2 separate regions of the Homo sapiens genome follow, and region 2 is linked to region 1. Evidence: promoter capture Hi-C in human tissues and cell types (Jung and others, 2019). All regions are on one chromosome and are shown on one strand. Each heading gives the region's core, a stretch centred on a gene start or on the middle of the fragment in contact. The rest is flanking DNA. Distances are from core to core; before and after follow the strand shown. Region 1 holds the start of LIN28B (lin-28 RNA binding posttranscriptional regulator B). Region 2 has its middle 12 kb from the start of HACE1.

Region 1 (2,700 bases), core at 122-2,621:
TCTCTTTAGACAGAAAACCCAGGAAAAGGCCCATACACGTACCCTAAACGTTGGACTACCTAGTGATTTCAGGGAAGATTTTGTCTTTCAATATACCGAAGGACATCTTATCGTACGTCTATTGGCATAACTACCGATCAGCTCCTCCACATGGAAAAAGATGAAGAGGGGGACAAAAAAGTTTGGCTTACTTGGTGTACAAATACATCGACTGGAATATCCAAGGGGCTTCCCTCTCGGTTTATCATGGAGATGAATCCAAATCCCATGCGCACATTGAACCACTTACAGTGGCCAGTTCCGCGCAAAACCTGGGATTCCTCCTCTGCCGGCTCCGGCAGCTTCCCGGGCTCTTCTCCACCACCTTTGCTAGCCCCGCCTGAGAAGGAACAGGACAAAAAAGTCAGTCTGTATTCCCATTCAATGTGCATTCAAAGATTAAAAAAAAAAAATTGCCTGCCTGGGGTTGGGGGGGAAGGGTAACAGAAAAAAAAAATTTTTTTTAATGGTTTGATTTCTTTTCTCCACAGAAAATACTTAAAATGAAAAGGGTTAAAAGGAAAGCGGGGGAGGGGGAAGCCACACTGTTCTATCGATCACACCAACTTCCACGTTTCTATACATACGTGTACTTATTCATTTAACTCCATTTTTCAGCCACATTTTACATTACAGCATGCGATACTTTACTTGTATATTGCTGATTTAATACTGATCCCATTGACAAAGAGAAATTTTCAGCGAAACTATTCTCTCCGGCGGGCACGAGGAGGAAAGAGAAATCGTGAAGATGGTTTAGAGCTACTAGTTAAGGCACATGGGGCAGCACTGAATCCAGCGTTATTTGCAATGTGCATTCCCCTCCCCCCCATAACTTTCAATTAAAGTTGGGGTGGAATGGGGGAGGGGGCAGGTGTATAAAAGTTTTCTTGGAATCACTAACTGAAACTGCGCTTAATCACACTCACACAATTCAAACAATAGCCCCCTGAAAGCTTTTCAAGTTGTGAATCAGTGTGGGCGGTACAAAACATTTTTGGAGATCTATAACAATAGGTTTGCAGAAAGCCCCACTGCGTGATGGGGGGTTGGGAGGTAATGCCCAGTATTGGGGTAAAAGGGGAAGGGGGGGACGGTCTAAGAAGGGTGGGAGAGGGGGAGGGGGAGGAGAAAAGAAGAAAGAAATTCACAGTAAAACAATAGAAAAGAAAATTAACCTTCGGCCATGTTGCCCCACGGGCCCTCAGCTCCAAACTCGTGAGATGAAAACTTTCCCTTTGGAACGGAGTGATCTTCTGCATCAATCTAACATCTTGATTTTGTGCGATCACAAATTTAGCTCGCATGGTCTAATGTGCTTTCCTTCTTTTGATTTTTTTCTCTCCTCTCTCCAGTTTCTGGCCCCCTGAGCACACGTGACTTTGTCAATTACATGCTTTCTTGCTACTAATTTCACCTCGTATCCTTAAGGGGCTGGCAAGAGGAAGAGATAACCAATCGCCATTTCATCTATGCTGACATCAAAATAATTTATGAATGAACACGAAAAACTCAAACATGTTATCTTAAAGACAATTTGGAACGCTTCTTTAGGATAAATCAGAATGCTGATTTCGTGCTTCTACTTAAACACAATGGAGGGACCTTGTGAATCATAGATTTAGAAAAAAAGGCAGTCATATATGTGCACACGCGTGCCTTACACACAAGCCTGACTAAAATCATGGGAGGGGGTCGTTTAAATAAAACAACCGATGTTAACGCTTTTTTTCCCCTTAAGAATTCAGCTATTCCATGGCAGTAAACCTGCTTGGAACGCTAATTTCATATTTAATTCAATTCTTAGAGGAAAATATATAATTTATAAAAGATCTAATTAAACCTAATTACATCCCCATGAAACTTTAGATAATGAAAACATACACCTAGGAAAAGGCAGAGGCACATAAATTACCTGATTATGCCCGAAATTTTTTCAAATTTAAAATAAAATCCTACTAGAAAAATCGTTTTCACCTTCATATAGTCAAATTGTGTTTAGGTAAACCATTTTGGAAAATTTTAGAGGGGGTTGGTAAGGAATTGTACTTCACAGGTTTCTCTGCCATCTCTTTCCGGGGGAGGAGATGTGATTAATGACTTCCTAAATAACAGCCCAGTTTTCCAGCCTAACATAGAGTGAACCTCAATCAGTGGCGATTGTTCCCCAAGAGCTGGAGGACATAGGGCAGGAGGGGGAGGGGATCGCCAGGCAGGGGAGGTGAAGAGGAGCCGCCAGGATAGGCGGCAGCAGAGTCAAAGAAAGAGGTGGGAGAGAAAAAAAGCCGGCGCGGGCAGGGGGTGGGGTGGAGAAAGAAGGACAAGTGGGAGAAAAAAGGTAAATTCATATCATATTGACTTGTACCCTGACATTTTAAAAGTCCACTACCAATGGCTAGAAGAGTTGAATAAACGAAAATGTAACAACGGATGAAGCTCCTACTGTCCTTCCTCAACTGACCCCCAGTTTCAAAATGCCTACCCCCTTTACCTTTCAAACTGGTTCAAACGATTGATTACAAGATGCTGGCAACAGTATTTCTGCCCTTATCGAATACTATAATAAATATTATAGATTAACTAAAAAGACTTTATTTCCTTTAAAATATAAAATATCGCTATTTTAAAACCTTAAAATGCACCACCAGACTTGCCTACCCC
Region 2 (2,831 bases), core at 314-2,813, 86 kb after region 1:
AGTCAGTAGAAAAAGAGAGAATCCTCCCTAACTCATTTTATGAGGCCAGTATCTTCCTGATACCAAAGCCTGGCAGAGACACAACAACAAAAAAGAGAATTTTAGACCAATATCCCTGATGAACATCGACGCAAAAATCCTCAATAAAGTACTGGCAAACCGAATCCAGCAGCACATCAAAAAGCTTATCCACCATGATCAAGTGGGCTTCATCCCTGGGATGCAAGGCTGGTTCAACATATGCAAATCAATAAACGTAATCCAGCATATAAACAGAATCAAAGACAAAAACCTCATGATTATCTCAATAGAAGCAGAAAAGGCCTTTGACAAAATTGAACAGCTCTTCATGCTAAAAACTCTCAATAAATTAGGTATTGATGGGACGTATCTCAAAATAATAATAGCTATTTATGACAGACCCACAGCCAATATCATACTGAATGGGCAAAAACTGCAAGCATTCCATTTGAAAACTGGCACAAGACAGGGGTGCCCTCTCTCACCACTCCTGTTCAACATAGTGTTGGAAGTTCTGGCCAGGAGTTTAGATTTTTAAATGTTGGAGAAAAAGGGACAGCTGCAGAGATTCTGAGGTGGGAAATGAAATGCTTCAAGTGGTTCTATAGGAAGATAACTCTGACAGAGACCAGAGAGTTCTGAAGGTGCCCCCTGCCCTTGGCATTCGTGAGCCATCTTACTGTATTAATAAATTCTTATTTAACATAAGCTAGCTGAAATTGCGTTTCTGTCAGTTAAAGCTGAAGAAATACTGTTTAATAAATCTCAGTTTGCAGAGGAGGAAACTTAAAACTAGACAGTATAAGTGAAACACAGTTTTTTGGTGTCAAGGTCAGCACTAGACTGTCCATGTCCCCGCTCTCCTAAACCACTGTACCCTGGGCAGTTAGACCTTTTACTTTTTCACTGCACTATTTGTCTTGAAGAAAAAGTGAACAAATCAATTCTTCATAGGCAATTCAAAGTGATGATTTTATGTAAATTAATTCCATACTAATAGATGTGGAAAACCAGTACTCAGATGACAGGTGCATTTGTTAAATGAATCTGGTATAGAACCATCCCATGCTTCAGATCAGGCTTGACAAGGCTCCTCATAATTCTGCTACCTAATGATTTGGAGTTAGAAACATAGCATGTTGGCTGGGTGCGGTGGCTCATGCCTGTAATCCCAGCACTTTGGGAGGCCGAGGCGGGCGAATCACGAGGTCAGGAGATCGAGACCATCCTCGCTAACACAGTGAAACCACGTCTCTACTAAAAATACAAAAAAATGACAGGGCGTGGTGGTGGGCACTTGCAGTTCCAGCTACTCGGGAGGCTTAGGCAGGAGAATGGCGTGAACCTGGGAGGCGGAGCTTGCAGTGAGCCGAGATCGCGCCACTGCACTCCAGCCTGGGCAACAGAGCAATACTCTGTCTTAAAAAAAAAAAAAAAAAAAAAAAAAAAAAAGAAACATAACATGTTCACATAAATAGTGAAATACTGAAATACACAGTAACACGTGTTCATGAATAAGTCTACTGCACCAAAGTGGAGGAAAGACAGAACCAAACATACATAATACTAATTTCAATGCCTATAACCTAGCTTTATGAGAAATGGATGACTTCAAGTTAAAATAATTGTTTTTCTCCATAAAAATCTGTTAAAAAGGGCCTTAACAACTTTTGAACTAATCTTTCTCCCTCAAAAGAACTACTCTACTCCTGTTACTGACTTTGGAGTCATCCCAAATCACTCTAACCCATTTATCCCATTGGTCATCTAGATTCCAGATTCTGCATCCTGCCCATCTACAGTATGCTCACATACATCTTTCTTTTTCACCCTCACCTTAATACAGTGTCTTGTATCCACTCACTTATATAATTTCAATAGCCTCTTAACTCATCCAGCTGTTGCCACTCTTTCCCACTGCCACCTAATTATGTTGCTCCTCACTGCTTATAGAACTGGCTTCAAGCTGCTAAGCATGTCATTCAAGGCTAACTGAAATCTGACTCATATGTTAGCCTTAATTCCCCAATTACCCATGAGCCTCAGCTAAATCAGCTATTAATGCTCAACAAGTATCAGCTGTTATTATTTGTTGTTAATCAGATTGTCCTGCTTGTTTCTATTCCCCATGTGTAAATATGACGTCTTTCAGGCATGAAATCTCCCTGATTCTACTCCCTTACTACACTGAAGTGATGATTCTCTTTCTCACCTCCTCAGGGTTTTTGGTACAACTTGAAGGACTCTCCACAGTTTGCTGTGTATTACTGTCAGATTTGTACATGTCTTAACTCTCTTTTTGGAAGTTGAACTTCTTGAGCATAAGAAAAAAATGTCTATTCTGGGGGTGCATGTGCAGGTTTTTATTCTTCAGTGTACTTCTACCTTGCATTTTGAACATACATGTATGTATTGAATTTGAAACTAAGTTACTGATGATGGAATGAAGTCACTGACACCCTTTATCTAATTAAAACGGAATGTTTAAAGAAGGCAGCATTTCACTGAAATGAAAAATAAACTCAATACAAATTAAAATAATTTTAAATACACAAGCTAAATGATACTATTTTTCTTTCTTTCTTTCTTTTTTTTTTTTTTTCAGACTGAGTCTCCCTCTGTTCCCCAGGCTGGAGTGCAATGGCACAATCTCAGATCACTGCAATCTCTGCCTCCTGGGTTCAAGCGATTCTCCTGCCTCAGCCTCCTGAGGAGCTGGGATCACAGGTGCATGCCACCACACCTGGCTAATTTTTGTATTTTTAGCAGAGACGGGGTTTCACCATGTTGGCCAGGCTGGTCTCAAACTC

Evidence for each region. Contacts are between HindIII fragments. The study calls those that stand out against the background at their distance.
Region 2: a contact is called between a fragment that was not itself captured here and the fragment with the promoter of LIN28B in region 1, in 2 of the 25 tissues and cell types used here (H1 embryonic stem cells and dorsolateral prefrontal cortex).

Annotation. Positions count from the first base shown.
Region 1 is chr6:104,955,778-104,958,477 of GRCh38, reverse strand. It overlaps LIN28B (lin-28 RNA binding posttranscriptional regulator B), which reads right to left and starts at 1,371. Exons shown (of 4, transcript NM_001004317.4): 1 at 1,218-1,371; 2 at 192-379. The coding sequence starts at 1,227. RefSeq lists enhancers at 483-1,420, 1,421-2,358. The HindIII fragment of the contact is 4,416 bases long and covers 1-2,163 here.
Region 2 is chr6:104,870,240-104,873,070 of GRCh38, reverse strand. No RefSeq gene overlaps it. Among named protein-coding and RNA genes, the nearest start is that of HACE1, 12 kb to the right of the region's middle. The HindIII fragment of the contact is 5,361 bases long and covers 1-2,831 here.